Linked DNA regions of Homo sapiens: all the other regions are linked to region 4. Evidence: promoter capture Hi-C in 16 types of primary human blood cells and fetal thymus (Javierre and others, 2016). All regions are on one chromosome and are shown on one strand. The core of a region is centred on a gene start or on the middle of the fragment in contact, and the rest is flanking DNA. Distances in the headings are between cores, read along the strand shown.

The links. The method cuts DNA at HindIII sites, captures the fragments that hold promoters and counts their contacts. A CHiCAGO score of 5 or more calls a contact.
Region 1: a fragment that was not itself captured here is called in contact with the fragment with the promoter of TAF5L in region 4 in 1 of 17 cell types (fetal thymus); the score reaches 5.3 in fetal thymus.
Region 2: a fragment that was not itself captured here is called in contact with the fragment with the promoter of TAF5L in region 4 in 3 of 17 cell types (fetal thymus, activated CD4 T cells and non-activated CD4 T cells); the score reaches 9.1 in fetal thymus.
Region 3: a contact is called between a fragment that was not itself captured here and the fragment with the promoter of TAF5L in region 4, in 1 of 17 cell types (fetal thymus). The highest score is 7.9, in fetal thymus.

Annotation. Positions count from the first base shown.
Region 1 is chr1:230,052,987-230,055,868 of GRCh38, reverse strand. No RefSeq gene overlaps it. Among named protein-coding and RNA genes, the nearest start is that of GALNT2, 13 kb to the left of the region's middle. The HindIII fragment of the contact is 4,956 bases long and covers 1-2,882 here.
Region 2 is chr1:230,070,008-230,072,793 of GRCh38, reverse strand. The region is part of intron 1 of GALNT2 (polypeptide N-acetylgalactosaminyltransferase 2); the gene reads right to left. Among named protein-coding and RNA genes, the nearest start is that of GALNT2, 4.2 kb to the right of the region's middle. RefSeq lists a silencer at 1,116-1,296. The HindIII fragment of the contact is 4,639 bases long and covers 1-2,786 here.
Region 3 is chr1:230,113,304-230,116,003 of GRCh38, reverse strand. The region is part of intron 1 of GALNT2 (polypeptide N-acetylgalactosaminyltransferase 2); the gene reads right to left. Among named protein-coding and RNA genes, the nearest start is that of GALNT2, 47 kb to the right of the region's middle. RefSeq lists an enhancer at 1,555-2,700. The HindIII fragment of the contact is 5,726 bases long and covers 1-2,700 here.
Region 4 is chr1:229,624,459-229,627,406 of GRCh38, reverse strand. TAF5L (TATA-box binding protein associated factor 5 like) reads left to right here and starts at 1,285. Exons shown (of 5, transcript NM_014409.4): 1 at 1,285-1,522. It overlaps URB2 (URB2 ribosome biogenesis homolog), which reads right to left and starts at 1,160. Exons shown (of 10, transcript NM_014777.4): 1 at 1,051-1,160. RefSeq lists enhancers at 587-666, 2,327-2,376 and silencers at 857-1,556, 1,647-1,836. The HindIII fragment of the contact is 3,723 bases long and covers 1-2,948 here.

The sequences.
Region 1 (2,882 bases), core at 269-2,768, 430 kb before region 4:
AGAGCCCTGGAGAGAAGGGGGCTCAAAAGAGGGGCTGGATGAGTCTGTAGACATGATGACGATGGGCCATGAGAAAGGGATCCCACCATAGCTTGTCCTCTTCAAGAACCAGGCAGTGAGCTGGAAAGACAATGGGAAAGTCTCCATGAATCACCTCCTCCTGAGGGAGGCTAGGCCAGCTACAGGTCAGATTGACCAGCCTAATTGAAACATCAGGGGCATTTTTGCTTAAGAAGGTGTGGGGAGGGAGAACATTTCTCCCATGTAGGTAATTGACAAGTCCTCAACAATTTATGAAACAACTGGAGATAAAAGGTTGAAAGTATAAATGCCCATTGAGATAACAATCACCGATTCCACAAATATTTATTGAGTATTTACGTTTTGCCAAGCTCTATTCTAGATTACTGGAGTGCACGGATGAAGAAGGTGAAGAACATCTCTGCCTTCAGAAAAATCTCACACCTTCTAAGAGTGAGTGCAGTGCACACAGTCCAGAGGGAGTCAGTTTCAATGCATCCATGAAGATAAAGGGCAGTCTCCTAGGTCTATCCACTCTGCAGGAGGTTGGCGAGGTGGGGAGGTGGAGATGTGCGCTTTTCAGGGGCCTGACAATGGTGCTGCGGAAGCTCAAGTTGGAAATGAGGAGGCTCTGCATGCCAAGAGCAAACTTCTCAGACTGCAGATTCTCCCCAAGACGGGTCTCGTTAACTTCAGAATCGGTAGAGACAAACAGAAACTGTGCATTGAAATATTTCTGACATGCAGCTGTAAGCTGGCAGCTCTGCTTAGAATGACTTATGAAGATGTTTTGTTTTTATTTTTGAGCATAGTCGATTTTGAATAAATGAGCCTTGTTCCCAAGGAATTTCTAATCAACGTATCACTGTATAAACCAGCCTTTACCCTCAAGGAACTTATTCCCTTGTTTGACAAACAGAGCACGCACATGTGAAATAGATAGTAAGGCAATAAATAAAGTGGCAAATGCTGGATATGGACACTTAAGAGGTTAACAGAAAATTTTAAATGTAATATATATGGCGGGGAGCAAGTCTAGTTGCTATCAAAATCTCTTGGGGATTTCCAAATGATAAAAGGTTTATTGTCCTTAATCTCCTGCTGCATTAATCCAACTTTTAAATCAGGAGCTGCCCTCAATTGTTGTGGGGAGAAGTCAGAGAATGGACCCATCGGTGTGGGCTGGAGTTCCAAGGAAGGGTCGAGGGGAGGGTTTGAGTTGGGCTTTGGAGGATGGGTATGGTTCAGACATGAGGGTGAGCATTCTGGGAGGCGTTCTCGACCGCAGACAGCTGTGGTGGAGGAGGATAGGCCCTGGATCTGAGAGCTTGGCTCTCAGGCTGCTATACCTGAACTTGATCCAACAGCTGACAGAGGGGTGGTGGGTTTTTTAGAGCAAGGGAGTGGTAGGATAAAAGCAACATTTTAAAAGATTAATAGGTGATTTCAGGACCTGTTGGGGTAAGGGGACGAGTCCATGCTCTGCAGCTGGATGGGGTGGGGCAGATCTGAGCTCCAGTCAGGTCTCTGAGGGAGCAGGGAGGAATCAAACAAGAGCTGGCTGGGAAGCAGCAGCAGCTGGACTTGAGTGGGAAGGTTTAGGCAGGAAAGGAGACTCATGGTTAAAGACGCCCCCATAGCCCCAGACTTAAGGAAATGGGTGGACTTTAGTGAGAAGTTCTATTTATTCCATCAGCCATTCTCTATTAGGCGCTTGCTTTGTGCCAGGCACTGTTCTAGAAACTTGGGTTACATCAGGGAACAAAACAGACTTAGACTGGGTGCGGTGGCTCACGCCTGTAATCCCAACACTTTGGGAGGCCAAGGCAGGTGGATCACCTGAGGTCAGGAGTTCAAGGCCAGCCTGGCCAACATGCTGAAACCCTATCTCTACTAAAAATACAAAAAAAAAAAAAAAAAATAGCCGGGTGTTGTGGTACACCCCTGTAATCCCAGCTACTCAGGAGGCTGAGGCACGAGAATCACTTGAACCTGGGAGGTGGAAGTTGTAGTGAGCTGAGATTGTGCCTTGGTACTACAGCCTGGGTGAGAGGGTGGACTCTGTCTCAAAAAAAACCAGGCCGGGCACAGTGGCTGATGCCTGTAATTCCCAGCACTTTGGGAGGCCGAGGTGGGTGGATCACCTGAGGTTGGGAGTTCGAGACCAGCCTGACCAATATGGAGAAACCCCGTCTCTACTAAAAATACAAAATTAGCCGGGCATGGTGGCACATGCCTGTGATCCCAGCTACTCAGGAGGCTGAGGCAGGAGAATCGTTTGAACCTGGGAGGCTAAGGTTGCAGTGAGCCGAGATCACACCACTGCACTCCAGCCTGGGCAACAAGAGCGAAACTCTGTCTCCAAAAACAAAACAAAACAAACAAAAAAAAACCAGACTTAGGTCCCTGCCCTCCTGGGGTTCCTACTGTAGTGCAGTGGTGGATGGGGAAGGGAGGGACTGGCAGTAAGCATTCAACACAATGAGTAGGTAGAGTAAATACAAATTGGCCCTTGAACCACATGAGGTCTACTCATATGTGGATCTTCTGCCACCCTTGAGACAGCAAGAAGAACTCCTCTTTTCCTCCTTTACTTCAGCCTACTCAACATGAAGACAATGAGAATGAAGACCTTTATGATCATCCATTTCCAATTAATGAATAGGAAATGTATTTTCTCTTCCTCATGATTTTCTTAATAATTTCTTTTCTCCGGCTTACTGTATTGTATGGACACAGTATTTAAGACATATACACAGTATGTGGTAATTGTTTATGTTATCAGTAAGTCTTCTAGTCAACAGTAGGCTATTAGTAGGTAAGTCTTGGGGGAGTCAAAAGTTATACGTGGATTTTTGACC
Region 2 (2,786 bases), core at 193-2,692, 450 kb before region 4:
CATGGGAAAGAGATCCCAAGGAAAGACCAGGGCAGCTAGGAACCGGAGGGCACTCAGGGGGTCTCAAGGCAGAGCATATTTAACAACCAGCATGGAAGTGCCCCACTGTTACATGTGAGTGGCATGGCTAAGCCAGTGTGTTTCCATCTGGATATCCACTGACTTGTACGGCTCAGCATCACCCATGCAGAGCTTCCAGAAGAGGCTTCACAAGGACAAAAGCACAAAAACCAACAGGGAGCATAGACTTGGCCAGGTTTGTGTGTTTTCTCATCACGTGAATTCTGCTGGGCACTCCAGGAGACTTCACAGGCTTTTCCCAGGAATACCTAGCTTCCCTTCCTGGGATCTCAGCCAGAGCCTCACAGTCGACTCCTGCTTACACCTGTGTCTCTGTCCCAGGCAGCCTCACCGCACCCCCCGCCACCCCCGCCCCACCACACCTGCTTTCACTAAGCCCACTGCCTCTGGACTTGCTAGAAGTTAGGCAGGACAGTGGCCTTGCCTGCTTTGACACTAAAATCAGTATCTTCCCAAACTGACTTCCCTCTCCCCAAAGCCCTAAGAAACATGAGCAGTAGCAAGAAGAAATTATGTCTTCCCCAACCCAATCTCCCCCACCCCCTCTCCCATCATTTTTCTGACCACCTCTTCCTCTGTTCCAAACAGGAGACCAACCACTCACCCATCATTCATCCAAACAGGAGCTAGGGTGGGGAAACTGACAGCGGGTCTGAAGACTCATAAAACCTTCACCAGCCTCCCAGGTGTCCCCCACCCCAAGGTCCAACAGAGCCTGGGCAAGCTGACCCCACTCAGTGCTGGGTAAAGCAGTTGCTTTTTCATTTTTGCTCAAGGGTCTAGGGAAGAGCTCGTTACTTTTGCACTGTTCAGCAGTCACACAATCTGTTTCCATTATGTTTGCTGACCCAGAGGCAGCCACAGCTTCACTCCAGAATTGGGAAACTTTATTTTCTTTAAAGAGAGAAGTTTATGTTACAGTGCCACTGTCGGATTATCTGGCTATACAGTGGTTTTCCCTGCTACTGTCCTCCCTGTGTCAACTTCAAACTCTCATTTGAAGTGGACTTTCTTTAAACTCCAAACTGATGATAGGTGGCAAGGAGTGGTATGGGTGTTCCCCTCCGCATCCACCAAGATGCTCACAGATTTTTGGCACCCATTAAACCACGTGAGGGCCCCATGCTCCACCTCAAGTCATGCATGCTTCCAGGGATCACAGCGACCTGCCCTTCTAACAAGAGGGGCAGGGCTACAGAGGGAGAGCAGTGGAGCTCAGAACCTGGGATCCCACCACAGGAACCCCTCGTTCAGGGACACGTCTGTCCACTGTTGGACACTACAACTGCCTAACCGCCAAGGCAAGCTGCACCCTCCACCCACATTCCCGATGGCTGCCCACTACTGGGATCCCCATTCTGACACCACAATTGGGTACAAGAGAGCTGGCATGGTGTCTGGACAACTTCCCAAAAAGTCCGTCTCTAACAGCATTTAAGATTCATAGCCCAAACCCCAAATGAACCAGTCAGATCAATCTCAGAGGTGGGGGTAACGGATAAAAAAAAGAAAGACGACTATTTTCCAGAAATCAAGAATTGTATCAGGAATACCGTGAACTTAAGATTCCTGGTTCACTACACTTTCAAGGGGATATTTAGGCTTTTATTTTTTCATTTTCCTCTTTTAGAGATAGCAGTTATTCAGCACCCACTAACAGTATTTAACTCTCCGAACAAGGCCATGAGGTAAGAATGATTACTCCCACTGCAAAGATGAGGAAACTGAGGGTCAGAGAGGTTCAATGCATCAGTGAAGGTCACTAAGCACAAAGAGGTAAACAGCTAGGTCTCACTCAATGCCAATAAGTGGATTTGTGCCATTTCCCTTTAATGTCTACTACTAGCTCAAAAACATTACTAGTTCCCAAATGGTTCAGCTTGGCATTTGAAGCCCGTTACAATTTAGTTCTGAATTTCTCCAACTTTACACCCTAACGTTCCCCTCCATGTGTACCATGGTCTAGCCCGGCAAGGTCCTTCACTGTTCCAAGAAATAACCTGCCCGCCTCCCCGCATGATTCCTAGAAGATCCCACCCAAAGTCCCCCACCCTTGGACTCTCGGGCAAGGGCCACAGGACTCGTGCCAGCTCAGGGAATAAGGGTGATGCTACTGTGCAAAGTGGACAGGCTCCCAGGGCTCCGGATCATGTCCCTCAACTAACACCGTCCCTTACCTCCCAGCATGCAGGCACACAGGCAAGGGGTCTCAGGCTCCACACACTCTTACAGCAGAGAGAAAACCCTTCCCTTTCCACCCTAAACAGCCACACTTCACCCACAGGCAGCTTCATTTCCAGAGAAATCCCTTCCTCTCTTCTGCGGCTCCATCCACTGCCAACGTACCAAAGCCCAGGGGAGACTTAACATGGTTAAAATTTTAAAGCATTTAAGAAGCTCAAAGGAAAGGCACGCTTGAAGTGCAAATCATCAATTTAGGGGGAAAGAGCAAAATATGGGGGGAAAGGGTATGGACACAAATGTAAATGAAACATAATTTTAAACAATATTTTGAATAAACTGCTTTAACATACATGTCCTGAGCCTGGGTGTTGAGTCCCGAGTTGTGCGGCAGTGCCTGAGATTGGTCTTCAGCACTCCCTCCTGCTTAGTTTACTAAACCTGCAATCTGAGGTGAGCTGGCTCTCTGGGTTTTGCCAAGTGGAGAATAACAGTTCTGTGATGAGTTACTTAACAGGCAGGGC
Region 3 (2,700 bases), core at 181-2,680, 490 kb before region 4:
GTTGTGGTGGAAACACCAAGAGAACTAGAAGTGGAGACGACAGATGTGACTGAATTGCTGCAAACTCATGATAGAACCTGGAAAAAGACATGGAAGAGCAAAGAAAGTGGTTTCCTGAGATGGAATCTATTCCTAGGGAACATGCTGTGAGCATGTCAAAATTACAACAAAGGATTCAGAATAAACTTAATTGACAAAGACGTGGCAGGGTTTGAGGGAACTGACTCCTATTCTGAAAGAAGTCCTACTGTGGGCAAAATGCTAAACAGCAACGCATGCTACAAAGAAATCTTTTGTGAAAGGAAGAGTCCATCAATGTGGCAAATTTCATTGTTGTCTTCTTTTAAGAAACTGTCGCAGCCACCACCTCAACCTTCAACCACCACCACCGTCATCAGTCAGCAGCCATCAACATCTGGGCAAAAAGACTATGACTCGACTTGCTAAAAACTCAGATGATCCTTAGCATTTTTCAGTAATAAAATATTTTAAAATTAAGATCCGTACATTGTTTAGGCATAAGGCTACTGCCCTATTCACAGACGGCAATACAGTGTAAACATAACTTTGTATGCACTAGGAAACCAAAAACTGTGTGTGACTTGCTTTACTGCCGTATTTGCTTTATGTGATGGCCTGAAATCAAACCCACAATTTTCTCAGACGTGTGTCTGTACATTTGTCCAAACCCATAGAATGTACAAAAGCAAGAGTGAACCCTCCTGTAATCCCAGCACTCTGGGAGGCCGAGGCAGGTGGATCACAAGGTCAGGAGTTCAAGACCGGCATGGCCAAGATAGTAAAACCCTGTCTCTACTAAAAATACAAAAATTAGCTGGGTGTGGTGGCAGGAGCTTGTAATCCCACCTACTTAGGAGGCTGAGGCAGGAGAATCGCTTGAACCCGGGTGGCAGAGGTTGCAATGAGCCGAGATCATGCCACTGCACTCCAGCCTGGGTGACAGAGTGAGACTCCATCTTAAAAAAAAAAAAAAAAAGAGTGAACCCTAATGTAAGCTGTGGACTTGGGAGACTTAAGGATGTGTCAGTGTAGGTTTGTGGACTATAACTCTTGCGAAGGGAAACTAATAGGGGAAGCTGGATGTTGGGGTAGCAGGTATACAGGCACTCTCTGTACCTTCTGCTCAATTTTGCTGTGAACCCAAAACTGCTCTAAAAAATAAAGCCTATTGAAAACAGATTTGCACGTTCTACATGGTACATAACCATCCATCTTTACTGCCATTAATGCCACACCACGTATTTAGCACCAAGATCCAAGAGCTCAATTCAGCGTTCTGGACCAGACTAAAAGGTGAGCTGAGTGCGTTTACTGGGTCAGCTGCATCATTTCCAGCCCGCAGGCCAGTTCGCCGGGTGGCATCCAGGACTTACGAGGTCAAGGGAATGTCTACCTGCTCCACCGCCAACGCTGTTTCCCCTGTTCATGTCCCAGCAGTGCCGGGTTCAGCCCAAGCCCCTCCTCTCGCTGAGAATCCCTCCTACCTCACTACAACTTAGAAATATCTTTCCAACATACAGACGTAATCGTGTGGGAAACGTCTGCCCATTTACAAACCTCAAGTGCCTCACTGAATTTCGCCAGTGAAATTCCCAAGTGACAAAGGATGAGATTTGTTCTCTTCTTCCAGGGCTCAGTCTTCACCAGGGAAAATTGACTTAGGAAGATTCCTTCACAAGGAATGGCCGGAAGCTACTGGGGGACAGCAGAGAAAGGAACGACTAAACCTCCCCCTAGAATGAGGCGCGGAAACACCAGGAAGACGAACTGAAAACCTGACCCTGAATGTGGCCAGAGGAATCACTGTGGCCCGTTTCCAAGAATCTCAGATTACCAGAGACACAGCTAAGTGGGCAGAAACCCCCTGTCCTAACAGAAGCCAGCTCCGAACTGAAAGGAAACACACGTCAAAAACGGCTTTCCTTAAAATGAGACTCTGACAGCCAAGGCTGGGAACGCAAGGGTTTTCATTCTATCACGTCAAGCACTTCACGGAGATGAAGTCCTTCATTCACTGCCTCACCCCGTGAGTCAGATGCTCAGCACATGCTGACGTTATTCTGAAAAAAAAAACAAAAAACAAATCCAATGACTTGCCCTGAGCCACAGCCATTGAGTCACAGGCAGAACTGGGAAGAGGCCTCGCTTCCCACATTTGGCAAGGCCAGTGACCCCTTCCCCGAAAAGACCTTCACAGAGATCATGACCTCTTTTATCTGATCAGGTGCAAACAAGCTGCCAACACTCCCTGGGCTTCTGAAGGCAAGGAGAAGAGCATCTGAAATCCCGCACGCTGTCTGTGCTGGGGAAAGTCCCAACAGGCAACATCAGCCCCAAGATACTCTGAGCTCCTCAAGAGCCACTCAGCAGCGATCCATCCCGTCCACTTCTTGAGCACTTTGCATGGGACACTGGGTTCCACTGTCATTGCTCAGCCGTTGTCCCACATGGCTGTTTAGCTGTGCTATGCAGGCTTCTTGCCCCAGCAGGTGGGGTCAGGTCTTCTTCTTATCCACCTCTACCACAGCTGTTCCTCAATAACAGCTCCCAGCTGACAGCAGCTCCGCCCTGCAGCTCCAGGTATAAACTGGAGTTTGCCCGCCATGTAAGTGCTGCGCAAACTGGATTCCTGAGTCAAGGAGAGAAGAACAGAGAAAGAAACTGGTACAAGGAAGACTG
Region 4 (2,948 bases), core at 36-2,535:
AAGATGGACTGCACACACAGAAGATGGACTATATGTATTCCAGCTATGATCAAACATCACTTCCACAAAGGTGAGTGTTCAGGAATTCAACAAGGCCAAAATCAGTGATTACATTACTTGTGGAAAGAGTCATTCATACATGGTTTCAAATTGAAAGAGGAAAAGATACATAAGCAATATCCGGAGAAAGTAATATGTCTCCAAGTGAAAAAGAAAACCCCAAAGGAATACAGTTATTTCAGCTGCAACAGTAACCTTCCACTAACACTTTTATTCAGTCGTGTATAAATTTACAACGCACATACACTTCAAAAAAGACTCTACAAGAGATACTTGCACAAGGAAAAGACTAAAAATAGAAAACAAAAAACCATGAAATCTCGGGGGTAGCAAACATACCAAACACCTACAGTTACTATTAAACTGGGTAAACTTGGCTTTGAGTTTCCTAAAAGTTATAGTAAAAAGGAACGTTAAGACGTTTTCATTTTAGAAATTAAGTTATCCTTCACTCTACTGCAGAGAACAAGAACGTCAAGTGCTGTCAGTTTTCCTATTTTGTCAAAATGTCCAAAACGAATTCAACGATGCCTGACTTTCTAAGTTCAATACCATAGAACCGCCATCGCGACAGCTACAAAGTGCATAACAGGTGTTTGCTGAACTGGCTACAAAGACAACCGAGATGCTCTCCCCGGCTCCGCCAGAGTTCGGCTCTCCGGGCCTCCAACCGCCCTTACCGGGCAATGCGAAGTCCAGGGCGGACAGCACAGCCCTGCCAGCACTCCCTGCCCAGCAGAAAGAGACCAAGCAACAAGAACCAGGGGAGAGCAGCTAGGAGCCAGGAGGGAGTTCGCCTTCGCGAATGGAGCGTGCCGAAGCCGCTCCAGCCCAGAGTCTGCTGGCGGCACCGGAACTGGGCAGGGTTGGGGGGCCCCCCATCTGGGCCCGGCCTTAGGTAGGGGGATCTCCTCTGGACCAGCCCCGGGTGGGGGGACTCACCTCGGGACCTGGCTGCCCGCAGGGGCTGACCGCAGGTGGGGGACTCACCTCGGGATCCGGCCCGGTAGGGGGCTCAGCTCGAGACAGCTCCGGGTAGACAGGGGAGGACGGCGGCAGCGGCGGCGGCTGCTGTCCCGGTGCGGCGGAGGCCGCTGTACGGGTCCCGCGTCCCCACCACGTGGGACCGGTACCCGCGCTCCTTCCGCCGGACGCCGGCGGCGCAGCGGGGAGGGGCTGCACGCACGCCAGGCGTCGCCAGCCGAGCGCCGAGGCGCCTCGCCCATTGGCGGAGACGGTTGCGCGTTGGAGGCCCGAGCGGCCCAGCCCGCGGCCCGCTCCGTGTCAGTCAGTCATGGAGCGGCCGCCCAGAGCGGCGGCGGGGGCGGCGGGGCGCGGGGCGCGGGGGCCCAGCTGAGCCGGCCGTCGGAGTGAGACCCTGCGGCAGAGACGACGGAGGCGGAAGCAACCCGATCCCGGAGGCGGCGGCGGCGGGGGGAGCCGGAGCCGCCTGGGATGTTCAGTGAGTGCCGGGAGCACGGGCGGGGAGGGCCGGGAGGGTCGCGAGGCGCGCGCGCGCGCGGGCGGGCGGGGGCCGGGGCGGTGGGGCCTCGGCGGGGCGCGCCTTGGCTCCCGCCGGCGGGCGGTGGGGGTGGGGCGCGGGAGGCGGGGCTGGGGGGCGGCGGGCGGCTCTGCGCGGGCGCGACGGCCGCGCCTCCGCCCTCGGCCTCCCGAGTCCCGGGCTGCGGCCGGCGGCGTGGCCTGCAGTCGGCGGCTACACCTGGACTGGCGTCGCGTTCCTGCGCAGGGGTGGGTCCTGCGGGTTGGATGCCGGGCTCGGGGAGGAGGTGGCGGGCGCCCGCGGGGAAGGTATCCCAGTGCCCGACAGCCAAGCAGGGAGCACGGCTCCACAGCTCCTTTGCATGTAGGGGAAAAGGAAATGTCTTTGCGGCGAAGTCGGGATTCAACTTTGCACATGGTGATCGTGCGTGGGTGGGTGTGGAGTCGATCTCCGCGTGTGACACGGGGGAGCCAGAGTTAGACTAGCTGCTGCAGGAGAGTGCTTACCTGCAAGGGTGTCTCTCGGGGCTCGTTGCCTCATGACAGCAAGGTAAGGTTGGTGCGCCCATGGTGTGGGACGGGTTCACCACCTCCAGCTCGCGAAGCTGCCAGGCTTTTGAAAATGTATTCGATAAGGCGTTGGTCCGAAGTGAGTGGATGGTTAGAAACAGTGGTGTCATTTTAGACTTAGCGGAAGTGGAGTGCAGGAACGCTACATGCAGTTCTCCCATCAGTTGTGAAAGTCGTTGTAATGCGGATCTCGCAGTCTTTGTGGTTCTGGGATCAGAAGGTAAGTGCCAGTCCCATGCAGTGTCTGTCTTAAATTACTGTACCTAAACTGACCTTGCAGATTGGAATCTCGGAATGGTGACTCCTGCTAACAAGCAGTTGGGAGCTGTGCTGAGAGGAACATTAAGTGCGGAGCGTGTCTTATATCAGGCGATTCAAGTGTGCCAACACCTGAGTTGGGGATGTAGGGGAGGACACGGAGGCTGTGCCCCAGTTCCTGGTCACAGCTCTACTTGGAAGGGGGAGTAGGAAAGGGAGTTTTGTGCTTAATAGGTTAAATGCATCTGGCCACATCTTTAAACTTTGGAACAGCATAATGTAGTGGATAGAGCTTGGTGACAGTAGACCTAGGATGGAAACCATGTAGCCATCTGCATAACCTCTCTGAACTGTAGTTTCCTCATCTATAAAATGCGATGATAAGGAATAACTTAAACGTGGATTTTTTTTTATCTTTAAGAGACAGGGTGCCTCTATGTTGCCCAGGCCTGGGCTCAAGCAGTCCTCCCGCCTCAGCCTCCCAAAAAACGACCTTTTTAAAGGTACCCAGAAAAAGAATGATGTGTATGAAAATAGCTAAATGTTAGCTATTATCGTTT